Regions from separate parts of the Homo sapiens genome. Here all the other regions are linked to region 3. The links are contacts of gene promoters, found by promoter capture Hi-C in blood cells and fetal thymus (Javierre and others, 2016). All regions are on one chromosome and are shown on one strand. Each heading gives the region's core, a stretch centred on a gene start or on the middle of the fragment in contact. The rest is flanking DNA. Distances are from core to core; before and after follow the strand shown.

Evidence for each region. Contacts are between HindIII fragments. The CHiCAGO score rates a contact against its expected background, and 5 or more counts as called.
Region 1: a contact is called between a fragment that was not itself captured here and the fragment with the promoter of MRPS17 in region 3, in 1 of 17 cell types (total CD8 T cells). The highest score is 5.1, in total CD8 T cells.
Region 2: a contact is called between a fragment that was not itself captured here and the fragment with the promoter of MRPS17 in region 3, in 1 of 17 cell types (erythroblasts). The highest score is 8.5, in erythroblasts.

Annotation. Positions count from the first base shown.
Region 1 is chr7:64,665,085-64,669,667 of GRCh38, forward strand. It overlaps ZNF107 (zinc finger protein 107), which reads left to right and starts at 1,049. Exons shown (of 4, transcript NM_001282359.2): 1 at 1,049-1,201. The coding sequence starts at 1,199. RefSeq lists enhancers at 787-936, 1,087-1,236, 1,257-1,376. The HindIII fragment of the contact is 3,227 bases long and covers 1,588-4,583 here.
Region 2 is chr7:65,813,219-65,817,716 of GRCh38, forward strand. It overlaps the pseudogene RNU6-912P. Among named protein-coding and RNA genes, the nearest start is that of LINC03129, 24 kb to the right of the region's middle. The HindIII fragment of the contact is 1,980 bases long and covers 1,851-3,830 here.
Region 3 is chr7:55,949,791-55,954,596 of GRCh38, forward strand. MRPS17 (mitochondrial ribosomal protein S17) reads left to right here and starts at 2,087. Exons shown (of 3, transcript NM_015969.3): 1 at 2,087-2,140; 2 at 3,389-3,528. The coding sequence starts at 3,406. RefSeq lists an enhancer at 2,140-2,199. The HindIII fragment of the contact is 16,512 bases long and covers 1-4,806 here.

The DNA.
Region 1 (4,583 bases), core at 1,951-4,450, 8.7 Mb after region 3:
TGGCAGAAAAGGAATGTTCAGGCCCTTCAAACCCCTGTTGTCAAAGCTGCACTTTAATGTGACAGCTATTGGCCATGTATGGCTACTGGGTGTCCGGAATGTGGCTGGTCAGAACTGCGATGTGCTAGAAAGGTAAAATACAGAGTTAAAGATTTAGTTCCAAAAATATACACACTTTATTAATAATTACATATTGCTCAGATATTAATATAATATTTTTGATATAGTGGGTTAATTAAATGGTTAGAATGAATTCCACCTGTTTCTTCTTCCTTCCTTTTTTTTTTTTTTTTTTTTTGAGACGGAGTCTCACTCCGTCGTCCAGGCTGGAGTGCAGTGGCACTATCTCGGTTCACTGCAAGCTCTGCCTCCTGGGTTCACACCATTCTCCTGCCTCAGCCTCCCGAGTAGCTGGGACTACAGGCCCCCGCCACCGCGCCGGGCTAATTTTTTGTATTTTTAGTAGAGACGGGGTTTCACCGTGTTAGCCAGGATGGTCTCGATCTCCTGACCTCGTGATCCGCCCACCACGGCCTCCCAAAGTGCTGGGATTACAGGCGTGAGCCACCGCGCCTGGCCTTCTTCTTCCTTCTTGAAGTTTGACTGCTAGAAAATTTAGAATACACATGTGGCTCACGTTTTATTTCAGAGGATTGCCTCCTTTTTAAACTCTCAATCGGCCTGCTCAAAGGACCAGAATTCAGAAAGGGCATAAAATCTGGAATTTTAAAATAATTGTTATATTATTTTCATGTGTGAATAGCCACATAATATATTATTTATAAATGCATATGACTTTATATACAGGTTAAATGCAAATGCCTTCTGGGGTGGACCTGGCTCAACTCAGGGAGGAGCCCTGCCTGAAAAGGCTGCAGCTTAGGTTTCACTTTATCTTCTTCCAGCCCAGCATCTGAGCACAGCTTCTGTCACTCAGGGCCTGAGGGAGCAGGGCAGCAAACGTTATCCAATCAGGACTGCTGGGCTGGGAACCGTCCAATCAGGCACGCAGCTGGAGCGGACAGGACGGCTTCCGGGATTTGGCGGGGCCTTTGTCTCTGGCTGCAGCCGGAGCTCCTGCTCTCCTCCTCACTGCTCAGTGTCCTCTGCTCCTAGAGGCCCAGCCTCTGTGTCCCTGTGACCTGCAGATATTGGGAGATCCACAGCTAAGACGCCGGGACTCCCTGGAAACCTAGAAATGGTGAGAGTGCTGGGTCCGACATCCCGAGAGAGGGGGAGGGGCTGGTTGGAACCGATCGGAAGTGGCTGTGGCTGGACTCGGGCCTCCAAAGTCCGCGGCCCCAAGTTCTCCTTGGCGCAGCTCGGCCCTCAGTCCCCCGCGGCCCCGAGTTCTCCTTGGCGCAGCTCGGTCCTCAGTCCCCTTCAGCCGTAAGATGGCGGCTGGGCTGACAGCCGGGACCCTGGGCGTCCTGTCTCCTCCCTGCTCAGTGACTGTGCCCTGGCCTGGAGCCCTCTCCGGGCGGCTTTGCACCCGCAGCGCGGCATCTCTCCCCGATTGTGCAGGGATGCCGGGAGGGTCATCAGGGGAGAATCCTGACTCGGGATGCGGGGTTCATGAATGGGAAAAGCTTTAGTCTGTGGGGTTCCTAGTCCATCTTTTTTCTCTTAAAAATCTATGGAAGTCACCACAAAAATGTTAAAGAATTTAATCAAAGAGTAATTGAAGAATTATAGAGCACCCAGCTGTGGTTTGTAGTTTATTTTCCATGGGAGGGGCTTGAAGAAAAGACTTTTAGAAGGTGCATGATAAAGGAAAGCAAACTCAATAATTGGTTAGGTAGAGTTACGTAGTTTCTTAGTTTTAGATGAAGGTGGAAATTTTCTGGTCACGTAATCAGAGCTTAATTGGCAGTTCATGGTTGATTAAGTCTAAATTTTGTTTTCCCCAATGTAGTAATTTACAAAAAAAAAGCATTTGAGTTAGATTTTTTAAAAAGTAAAAACCCTGGGACTAGAGCCACCTCAGTCTAATTGCCTGCCATTTAGTTATTTTCACACTCCACAGGGGACAGATTTTCCCCTGCAACTTTCACGTGTCTCAAGCAGGGTCTCAAGACTACTCCCTATTCCCCATTCTTTTAGCCTAACTGACTTTCAGTAAAATGCTAAATTTCCAGTTTCCTTTGACATTCCCAAATCCCAGCTTCCCCTCCCTAATTCACATTATCAACTATTTGTCCTTTAGTGTACATTTTAGATACTGTATTTTAATTAATCATTGTTGACAAATTATTGGGTGGCACTTTAAACAAATTGTTTGCTGTTTGAAAATATTTCCAATGAGAAGAAAACAAAAAATAATCCCCTGACACTGTATTGTAAAAAAAAGTCTGTGCCTATTTTCCTTTTATCTTCCCTAGGCGCAGAGATCTTATCAGAATGTTTTTGGGTCAAGGTTTCCCTTTGGAAACTTTACAGGGTGATGTGTCCTCAGCCACCTTTCGGTTTTCTCCTGGTCCTGGGTTTCAGTACTGTCTGGGGATAAATCAAGATATCAACTGTGGCTGTGTATGCTAGAATCTCTAGTAAATTTCAGCTCCTGGCCTGGAATGGAACTCTGGGTATCTGGGAATGGGAGACAGAGGACAATCTGAGGTTGGAGTGTAGCCTCTCAAGGGAGCAGGTGGATGCCCTGGGGCTGAGAGGAATCTCCTGGTATACCCTTCCTTTGGAAAGCTAACCCTTTGAGGCATTAAGATTGTGTTCACTCAACCCGACTTCCATTTCTCAGAGGTACATTGCTGGTCAGCCAATCAGATGCTGGTATTGAGAGGAAAACTCAGAAATAATTTCTGCCCCCTGGATTCTCTAAGATTTGTGAAAGAAAAAATAGTATTCCAGAAGACAAAAAAAAAAAAAAATCAAACTTGACCCCAGTGAGATGGTACAAGAACTTGCAAAATGAAATGCACTTGGAGTAGTCACTGAGGCATAGGGCAGTGTCTACAGAGAGGGTGGTCATTGGGCACTTAAATGAGCAGGATGGGGTAGGAGAATCTAGTGTTTGGGTGGCCTGACTTGACACATGAGTCAGACACATCTGTTTTCTTTTTTTTTATTATTATTATACTTTAAGTTTTAGGGTACATGTGCATAACGTGCAGGTTTGTTACATATGTACACATGTGCCCTGTTGGTGTGCTGCACCCAGTAACTCGTCATTTAGCATTAGGTATATCTCCTAATGCTATCCCTCCCCCCTCCCCCCACCCCACAGCAGGCCCCAGTGTGTGATGTTCCCCTTCCTGTGTCCATGTGTTCTCATTGTTCAATTCCCACCTATAAGTGAGAACATGCGGTGTTTGGTTTTTTGTCCTTGCTGAGAACGATGGTTTCCAGCTTTATCCATGTCCCTGCAAAGGCCATGAACTCATCAGACACATCTGTTTTCTAATCAGCCCCGCCACTCCCTGGGTTTGTCACCTTGAAAAGATTTGTTCACTTATTTTGATTTCAGTTTTATAACTGTAACTTGCATTTTATTAGTATGATTTAAAAGTTAAGAAAATATTTACAGAGCATAAAAGAGGTGAGTTTCAGAGAAAAATAATATCTAATCATATATTCCATTTATTAAGAATTCTCATTTACCTTTTTCTTTCCCAGACTTAGTTTAGGAATTTACTCAGGTGTGTTTTTTATGGCTGGGTGATGTCCAACGGTATTCCAAGGCTTAGTTTTTAGAGTGCTAGCAGGGAAACAAAAAGGAAAAAAACCTCTCTTCCATTTTGACTGTAGAAAATGAATACATTTTTACAAGAAAATGTGGTAGATAATTGATGAGTTACATAGATTTATGAAAGCATCAGTTCCTCTTTTTGCAGGGTACTTTTGTTACAGTAAATACCTCTGTTCTATATCCTATCATCTTGATTTGTGAGGATAACGCTAATTTTTTTTTTTTTTTTTTTTTTTTTTTTTTTTTTTTGAGATGGAGTCTCGCTCTGTTGCTCAGGCTGAAGGGCAGTGGTGCGATCTCGGCTCACTGAAACCTCCGCCTTCCGGGCTCAAGCAATTCTCCTGCCTCAACCTCGCAAGTAGCTGGGATTACAGGCATGCACCACCATGCCCAGGTAATTTTTGTAGTTTTATTAGACACGGGGTTTCACCATGTTGGGCAGGCTGGCCTTGAACTCCTGACCTCAAGTGATCTGCCTGCCTTGGTCTCCCAAGGGATTACAGGCATGAGCCACTGCACCCAGCTGGTTAATGCTAAATTTTATGAGATGAAAGTTGGTACCTCCTAGAAGTATGACTTCTTGATTACTAATCCCATATGACTAATTGATTACTACCTAATTTTTAATGAAAATAATAGAATAATACATTTATCGTCTGAAAGAAATAAATACTTTGCATTTCTTACTGAGGTATGAAATGTAAGCACCTTAAAATTTCCTTCCCTTGGTTGGGTGCAGTGGCTCACGCCTGTAATCCCAGCACTTTGGGAGGCTGAGGCAGGCGGATCACCTGAGGTCAAGAGTTCAAGACCAGCCTGGCCAACATGGTGAAGCCCCGTCTCTACTGAAAAATTAGCCAGGTGTGGGTGACAGGCACCTGTA
Region 2 (4,498 bases), core at 1,591-4,090, 9.9 Mb after region 3:
AAGACTGTGAACAAGCTTGCTGGTCCATCCCTGTCCTACAAAAGAGCATACCTCTTCTGTAACCAGAAGACCCTTTTATTTAGTCAAGGCTGGACAGACTGAGATGAGGGGGTGTGTGTGTGTCTGCATGTGTCTGTGTGTGTGTGCGTGTGTGTGTGTGTGTGTGTGTGTGTGTGTGTGTGTGTATGTATGTGTATGTTGAGACAGGGTCTCACTCTGTCACCCAGGCTGGCATGCAGTGGTGAGATCAGAGCTCACTGCAGCTTCCACTTCTGCAGCTTCCACTTTCATCCTCCCACTTCAGCCTGCAGAGTAGCTGGGACTATAGGAATGTGCCACTGCACCCAGCTCATTTTCTAATTTTTTGTAGAGATGAGGTTTCACTGTGTTGCCTAGGCTGGTCTTGAACTCCTGGCCTCATGGGATCCTCCTGCCTTAGTCTCCCAATGGGCTGGGATTATAGGTATGGGCCACCTCAGCTGACCTACGATGATTTTTCAACAATGCGATTCCTCTTTTACAGAGCCACCTAAGCTGAAGATTCCCTTGAGAACAAGGGCTAGCCTGTGATTTCGTGACCTTTCTTCCATTTGTGGTTCTTGCCAAGTGGAATTTAAATGACCTTTTATCAAGATGGATAAACCCAAGTTTCCCAGTGCCAGAATATAGAAAATGGATGGATAAGTAAGTCCCACTCAGCACCCATAGCCCAGACATGGGGACCTCAACACACCTGGGTCCCAGACATCACCTTTCATTGTGAGTAGCTCAGAGATGACATTCTTGGTTGTTAAGTACCCACTGGCAATAGTTTATATAACAGCAAGTGAAGAAATAAATAGTCACCAAAACATTTTCTGTTCCCAATTCCAGCATTAATTGGATTAGATAGTTATCTTATGAAGAATTTTCATATACCACAGTCCTGACCATATGTTCAAGTCAACAGAAAAATTCTATTAAACAGTCAACCTTCTGTCTCACTCTGTTGCCCAGACTGGAGTGCAGTGGTGCAATTATGGCTCACTGCAGGCTCAAGCAATCCTCCTGACTCAGCCTCACAAGTAGCTGGGACTACAGGTGCTTGTCACCACACCTCACTAATTTTCTCATTTTATATATATATATATATCTCAATACCCCAGGACTGACTGGAAAACTTGAGTATGTGTGGATTTTGGTATACATAGAAATGGAGGAGCTGGAACCAATCCCCCCATATACCAAGGGACAAATTGTATCTGTTTTTACAGTTATACTGTAGGATACATTATGTTCCATGACAATGGTAATTTTTAGTGACAATTTTTAATTGAGTGGAATTACCATAAAAATAATAAAAGTAGCAGCTAATATTTACTGAGCTGTTATGAGATCCCTATAAATACCATAGATTTTTAAATTCCCCGTAACTCTTCCTTATTTCACTTAACCACTTTATCTTAAATTACTCATGCTTGCTTCGGTAGCACATATACTAAAGTTGGAACAATAGAGAGATTGGCATGGCCTCTGTGCAAGAATGACATGCAAATTTGTGAAGCATTCCATATTTTTTTAAAAAAGAGAAAAAAAATACCCCAAGATTTTCACTGTGTTTGTGCATATGACCTTTTGTTTAGGTTGAATTATATCCAAAGATGATATTTCCAGAAGTGAGATTACTGTGAGTCACAGGGCATGAGCATTCTTATTATGCTTGATGTAAATTGCCAAGCTTTCAGGCATGGTGGCTGTCGACCTATAATCCCAGCACTTTTGGAGGTTGAGGTGGGAGGACTGCTTGAGGCCAGGAGTTGGAGGAGGCAGTATAGTGAGTCACTGTCTGTATTATTTTTAAAAAATTGCCAAGCTTTACCCTGGAAGGTTTATTTACAATTTAAACATCACTAATAGTAAAAGAAAATGCCCATTTCACTGCACCTTTGCCAGCACAGGGTATTATAATTTAACAAGTTATTTTCTGTTTGATTATTTTTAATAAATAAAAGACCTCATATTACTTTATTTTCATTTGTCACTTTTTTTTTTTGAGACAGAGTCTTGCTCTCTCACCAGGCTGGAGTGCAGTGGCATGACCTTGGCTCACTGCAACCTCCGCCTCCCAGGTTCAAGCAATTCTCCTGCCTCAGCCTCCTGAGTAGCTGGGATTATAGGCACACGCCACCATGCCTGGCTAATTTTTGCATTTTTAGTAGAGACAGGGTTTCACCATGTTCGTCAGGCTGGTCTTGAACTCCTGAACTCATGATCCATCCACCTCGGCCTCCCAAAGTGCTGGGATTACAGGCGTGAGCCACCGTGCCCATCTTATTTGTCACATTTTAACATCTTTTCTTATGTTAGCTTGTTAGCTTTATTTCTTTATTGTCTTTTTTTTTTTGAGACTAAGTCTCGCTCTGTCTTCCAGGCTTGAGTGTAGTGGCACAAGCACAGTCTCAACTTACCACAGTCTTGACCTCCTGGGCTCAGGTGATCCTTCCACCTCAGTAGCTGGGACTGTAGGCACATGCCACCATGCCTGGCAATTTTTTTTTTTTTTTTTTTTTTTTTTAGTACAGATGATGTCTTGCTATGTTTTCCAGGCTGGTCTGGAACTCCTGCCCTCAAGCAATCCTCCCCGACCCCCTCCCAAAGTGCTGGTATTATAAGTGTGAGCCACCATGCCTGGGCTGTCTGTGACTTCTCCATTTATTTATAGAGTTAATGTGTCTTTTACTAATTTGACAATCTATTTATTTAATCTCTTTAAATTATAAAAATAGTAAATATTTTTAAGAAAGAAGTGAAAATTTTCCTTTGCTCTTTAGACCCATGATCTTATCTCAGGAAATAATTGCTATTGAGAAAAAGGGCCATATTTTTCAAGATACAGGCTAATTGGACTTCACTTCACATTTTCATATTTCATGGACATCTATGCCAATACCTATTGATCTTTCTTAATCCTTTTCATGGTTGCATAATATTTTATTATATGGATGTATCACAGTTTACCAGTCAGCCGCTATAGGCATTTAGGCTCCTTCTACTATTTGCTTTGAGCTCTTTATATAATTAAAAATTAACCCCCTCAGCCAGATGTGGCAGCTCACACCTGTAATCCCAGCACTTTGGAAGGCTGAGGTGGGAGAACTGCTTGAGGGTAGGAGATTACCATCAGCCTGGTCAACATAACAACACTTTGTCTCTACTAAAAATTAAAAAAAAAAATGAGCTGGACATTGTGGTGGACACCTGTAGTCCCAGCTCCTACGGAGGCTGAGACTGGAGGATCACTTGAGCCTAGGAGGTTGAGGCTGCAGTAAGCTATGATCATACCACTGCACTCCAGCTTTGGTAACAGAGTAAGACTGTGTTTCTTAAATAAAATAAAAATCAGGTGGGAAGATTTCTTGAGCCCAGGAGGTTGAGGCTGCAGTGAGCTGTGATCGCACTACTGCAGTACAGCCTTGGCAATAGAGCAAGACCCTTTCTCAAAAAATAAAATAAAATAAAAATTACCCTTTATCATATTTCCCAGTGACACCTTCCCTCCTACATTTTTCCTAGAAGCCCTTGAATTTTGTTTGCTTTTCACATACCATTTAAAACTTTTAAGTACTGATGTCTGTCTGTGTCATCCCTCTTTTTTTTTTTCTTTTTTTTTAAAGAATGTCTTTATGTCACTTTCAGCTGAATCTACCATGAAAGACTTCAGAGTCCAGGAAGAGAGACTGACTGGGCAACATCTTATTCAGGTACAAAAAGACTTGAACTATAACACAAAAATGGTCAAATAACAGTACATGCATGAAGTGCAATGGGAAGCTCTTCTGGAGGGTGAGAGAAGCTTCCAGTTAAGATAACATTGAAACCGGGTCCTGAAAGATGAGTAAGAGTTGCATGAGAGTGGGGAGGGAAGGGGGAGGTGGAGGGGTGGGGAATGGGCTGGGATGGGTTGGAGTGAGCTCCCCAGGCAGGGAAACCAGCACTGTAAAGACCTGGACAATGAAAATGGCACATTTTATTCAGGGAATGGTGAATTAAGTGTGGCAGGAATGCATTGGAGAGACAGTAATTTGCTTGTATGGAATTTTGCCCAAGAGACCTCATTACAGTTTCTAATCTGTTGACATTATTATGCATCCCTCTCCTTGTCAAATAGTTTAGAATAGGTATAATGATCACAATAACACCAATCATAGTATTTCATTAGTTCTCACAAAATCACAGATAGGTGCCACAGTTATCTCCATTTTACACACAAAATGGTGAAGACTTGTGGATAATAAGTGATTTGCCCAAGCTCACCTGGATATTAAGACTGAGTCAAATGTTGGGTCTTGTTTGACTTTAATGCTTGCTTTGTTCATGAGCACCATGCATTGCCTCTCCTATGCAGTTAAGCAGGTAGACAGGTGAGAGAAGAACCCATGTTTCTCTCTACTCACACACTTCTGACAAAATGTGAGTGCAGAGTTTCTACACCAATTCTCCAACTCTCTGGATACCAACT
Region 3 (4,806 bases), core at 837-3,336:
CCCAAAGGGCTGGGATTATAGGCGTGAGCCACTGCGCCCAGCCTTAAAGTTTTAATTTTTGAACCATTTTAATGATTTACACATTCAAAAAATAAGATTAAAAGGATATGGTTTTTCCTATCCTCGAATACAAAATTGTATACAAACATATAAAAATGAAGGCCAGGCACGGTGGCTCACGCCTGTAATCCCAACACTTTGGGAGGCCGAGGCGGGCGGATCATTAGGTCACAAGATGGAGACCATCCTGGCTAACGCGGTGAAACTCCATCTCTACTAAAAATACAAGAAAAATTAGCCGGGCGTGGTGGCGGGTGCCTGTAGTCCCAGCCACCCGGGATGCTGAGGCAGGAGAATGGCGTAAACCCAGGAGGCAGAGCTTGCAGTGAGCCGAGATTGTGAGCGAGACTCCGTCTGAAAAAAAAAAAAAAATCTAATTGTATAGAATATTGTTACAACCACACAGAAGAAAAAAAAAGAATCCCAAGAAATGTTGAACACAGTGCTGTCATTGTACACTCTAAGGACAAAAAGAACCACAAAAAATAATCTCACGCATCACTTAGAAAGTTTGTTTTTAGTCGGGATATTGTTAGTACAACTCCAAAAGCATATAGTGTATACTATAGGATTTAGCATTAATCATTGATGTTGTCGGGGTAGGGACCAGAGTTCTAACTGTGGAAGAAAGGAGATAAAAATACGGAACTGGTGAAGCAAAAGAAGAAACCCACTGGTGGCTCATGCCTGTAATCCCAGCACTTTGGGAAGCCGAGACGGGCGGATCACGAGGTCAGGAGATCGAGACCATCCTGGCTTACACGGTGAAACCCCGTCTCCACTAAAAAAAATACAAAAAATTAGCCGGCCTGGTGGCAGGCGCCTGTAGTCCCAGCTACTCGGAAGGCTGAGGCAGGAGAATGGCGTGAACCCGGGAGGCGGAGCTTGCAGTGAGCCGAGATCGCGCCAGTGCACTCCAGCCTGGGCGACAGAGACAGCCTCCGTCCCAAAAAAGAAAGAAACCCACTGCTGTTTAAAGGTAGGTGTGTGTGTGCGTGTGTGTATGTTTCAATGTATCGATAGCTACATCTGCTGAAATAGCCTACAGGCAGGAAAATCCCAGTAGCAAGTTGCTCACCTAGCACTCAGAGCTTTGTTGCTAAGTACCACTCCCCACTGATATTTTTCGTTTGAAAAACTTCTGATACAATAACTGGTCAGGGAAAGTATAGGTAAATCTGGACCAGCCAGGCACAGTGGCTCATGCCTGTAATCCCAGAACTTTGGGAGTCCGAAATAGGTGGATCACTTGAGGCCAAGAGTTCAAGAACAGCCTGGCCAACATGGTGAAATCCCGTCTCTACTAAAAATAAAAAAAATTAGCTGGACGTGGTGCCAGATGCCTGTAGTCCCAGCTACTCAGGAGGCTGAGGCAGGAGAATCCCTTAAACCCAGGAGGCAGAGGTTGCAGTGAGTCAAGATCATGCCACTGCACTCCAGCCTGGGCAACAAGAGTGAGACCCTGTCTCAAAAAAAAAAAAAAAAAAAACACTTTTAGGCCAGGCACGGTGGCTCACGCCTGTAATTCCAACACTTTGAAAGGCCAAAGTGGTTGGATCACTTAAGGCCAGGAGTTCGAGACCAGCCTGGCCAACATGTGAAACCCTGTCTCTACTAAAAATACAAAAATTAGCTGGGCATGGTGGTGCACGCCTGTAATCCCAGCTACTTGGGAGGTTGAGGCAGAAGAATCGCTTGAACCCGGGAGGCAGAGGTTGCAGTGAGCAGAGATCGCGCCACTGCACACCAGCCTGGGCGACAGAGCGAGACTCCGTCTCAAAAAAAAAAAAAAAAAAAAGAAACAAAACAAAAGAATGAAAGAAAAGTCCGAAACCTCCTGCGCCACTGTCCACTAGCTGCGCGCGTTAGGAAACCAGAGGTCAGCGCCCCCGACCCCGCCACCGCCGCGGGTCCCTTTAAGGGAGAGTGGGCGGGGTCCTGCCTTTAACTCCGCCCACGGCTAAGGAGATGCACGGCCTACGAGAGGGGTAGTGTGGGACTGAGCCAATGCGTACGGCGTGACGCCATCCCGCTGCGACCGGCGCTCCCCGGGGCAGGTGGCTGCATAGTCTTGGCGGAGGTGAGTCTCGTGGTGGAGGTGAGGGCAGGCTCCGGGGTATTGCTGCCGGGGGAGGATTTGCTGGGGACCCAAGGCACCCTCGCGTGAGAGCCCTGAGAGCGAATCGCTTCGTCTGACCTCGGGGTTGTCTGGGGCGAGGGCACGAATCACCCCAACCTTTCCGAAGCCTGGTGGAATGGCTTGTGAACTGATCTCAAAAGCAGCCCAAGTCATCCGTCGCTGGGCCGGGGAGGGGGACACCGCGGCGGCCCCGCCGAGTGCTACCTGGGCACTGAGCCTGTGGGGAGAGGCGACCCAGCGGGGTGGAGAGAGATAAGGGACCAGTAACGTCCAGCGTTTGTCCGTGGTATTGAGCGTTCTGTGGGTCAAATTCTCAAAGCACTCCTGCGAAATAGGCCTGCCCATTTTGCAGAAGGGGAACGTGAGGCTTGGCGAAGTTAAAGTTACCGCTTTGTAAGCGCTGTAAAGATGAGAGGTTGGGTAGTGGGGAACGTGTAAGCATCTCTGAAATGGTGATTCAAGCCGGGCGCGGTGGCTCACGCCTCTTAATCCCAGCACTTTGGGAGGCTTGAGGCGGGCGGATCACCTGAGGTCAGGAGTTCGAGACCAGTCTGGCCAACATGGTGAAACTCTGTCTTTACTAAAAATACAAAAATTAGCTCGGCGTGGTGGTGCGGGCCTGTAGTCCCGGCTACTCGGGAGGCTGAGGGAGAAGAATCGCTTGAACCCGGGAGGCGGAGGTTGCAGTGAGCCGAGATCGCGCCACTTCACTCCAGACTGGGCGAAAGAACTAAACTTCATCTAAAGAAAAATACATATGGCCGGGCGCGGTGGCTCACGCCTGTAATCCTAGCACTCTGGGAGGCCGAGGCGGGCGGATCACGAGGTCAGGAGATCAAGACCATCCTGGCTAACACGGTGAAACTCCATCTCTACTAAAAATACAAAAAAATTAGCCGGGCGTTGTGGCGGGCGCCTGTAGTCCCAGCTGCTCGGGAGGCTGAGGCAGGAGAATGGCGTGAACCCAGGAGGCGGCGTTTGCAGTGAGCCAAGATCGCACCACCGCACTCCAGCCTGGGCGACAGAGAGAGACTACATCTAAAAAAAAACAAAACAAAACTGTTTCTGGGTGGAGGGGGGAACGAAAAAGAAAAAAACTGTTTCTGGACTAACCTGGACAGTTCTTGTGACAAAATTCATGTGGCATCATAACCACCAGAATATGAGACTTTGGAATTTGCTTTTCAGGTGACCAAAGCCACGTAATGTCCGTAGTTCGCTCATCCGTCCATGCCAGATGGATTGTGGGGAAGGTGATTGGGACAAAAATGCAAAAGACTGCTAAAGTGAGAGTGACCAGGCTTGTTCTGGATCCCTATTTATTAAAGGTGAGAAACATTCTTGTTTCCGGGTGGCTTTGGTAAATCACCACCATGTCCTGGGTCCTAAGCAAAAAAACATTTATCTCTCAGTAAAGATGTCTTGTCTCTCATCTGCTTTGAGCCAGGCATTTTGCTGGTCTGTAGGTATAACACGGTTTACACATTCCAAGAAAACAGTTAATGTCAATCCACTCTAACTGCTGTAGTCATTCTGTATGCAAAGTACTGGCCGGATGAGGTGGCTCACACCTGTAATCCCAGCACTTTGGGAGGCCGATGCGGTTGGATCACCTGAGATCAGGAGTTCGAGACCAGTCTGGCCAACGTGGTGAAACCCCGTCTCTACTAAAAATACAAAAATTAGCTGGGCATAGTGGTGCGCACCTGTAATCCTAGCTACTCTGGAGGCTGAGGCAGGAGAATCTCTTGAAGCCGGGAGGCGGAGGTTGCAATGAGCCACAATTGTACCATTGCACTCCATCCTGGACAAGAGCAAAACTCTGCCTACCATGCACAATTCACAATAGGGTTTGTGCTCCTATAGGAATCTAATGCCGCTGCTGATCTGACAGGAGGTGGAGCGCAGGCGGTAATACTCATGCTGGCTCAACGCCACTCACCTCCTGCTGTGCGGCCCTGTTCCTAACAGGCCACTGAATGGTATCAGTCTGCTGCCCTGGGGGTTGGGGATCCCTGCTTGAACCCAAAGACAGGCTTGGAAACACGGGTAGGGATGAAGACTGGAGGTAAGGGAATGGGCAAAGAGGCTGCTGCAAAAGTCTAGGATGGAAATAAGGACCTGAACTAAAGTTGATGTAGTGGGGATGGAGTGGAAAAAATATTTCAGGAAGGACAGAGTCATTGATTTGTTTGCTGTGCCCAGGGGACGGATAGGTGCCAAGGATGGTTTCACATCCAAAGTTCAGCACACAGGTGGGTACCAATGCTGGTCATTATCAAGGATTAGAAACACAGGAGCAAGCTGAAGAGTGACTGCATGATCCTTGACCTTTGGGAGACCTTAGTTTGAATACTGACTCTTGTTTACCAGCTACACACATGGCTTAACCTCCCTGAACTTTTCTCATATGTACCTGCTGCAACAGGGTTGTTATAAAGAATAGGTGATTCTAGGCTGGGCGCGGTGGCTCATGCCTGTAATCCCAGCACTTTGGGAGGCCGAGGCAGGTGGATCACCTGACGTCAGGAGTTCAGGACCAGCCTGGCCAACATGGTGAAACCCCATCTCTACTAAAAAAACATACAAAAAATTAGCCGGGCATG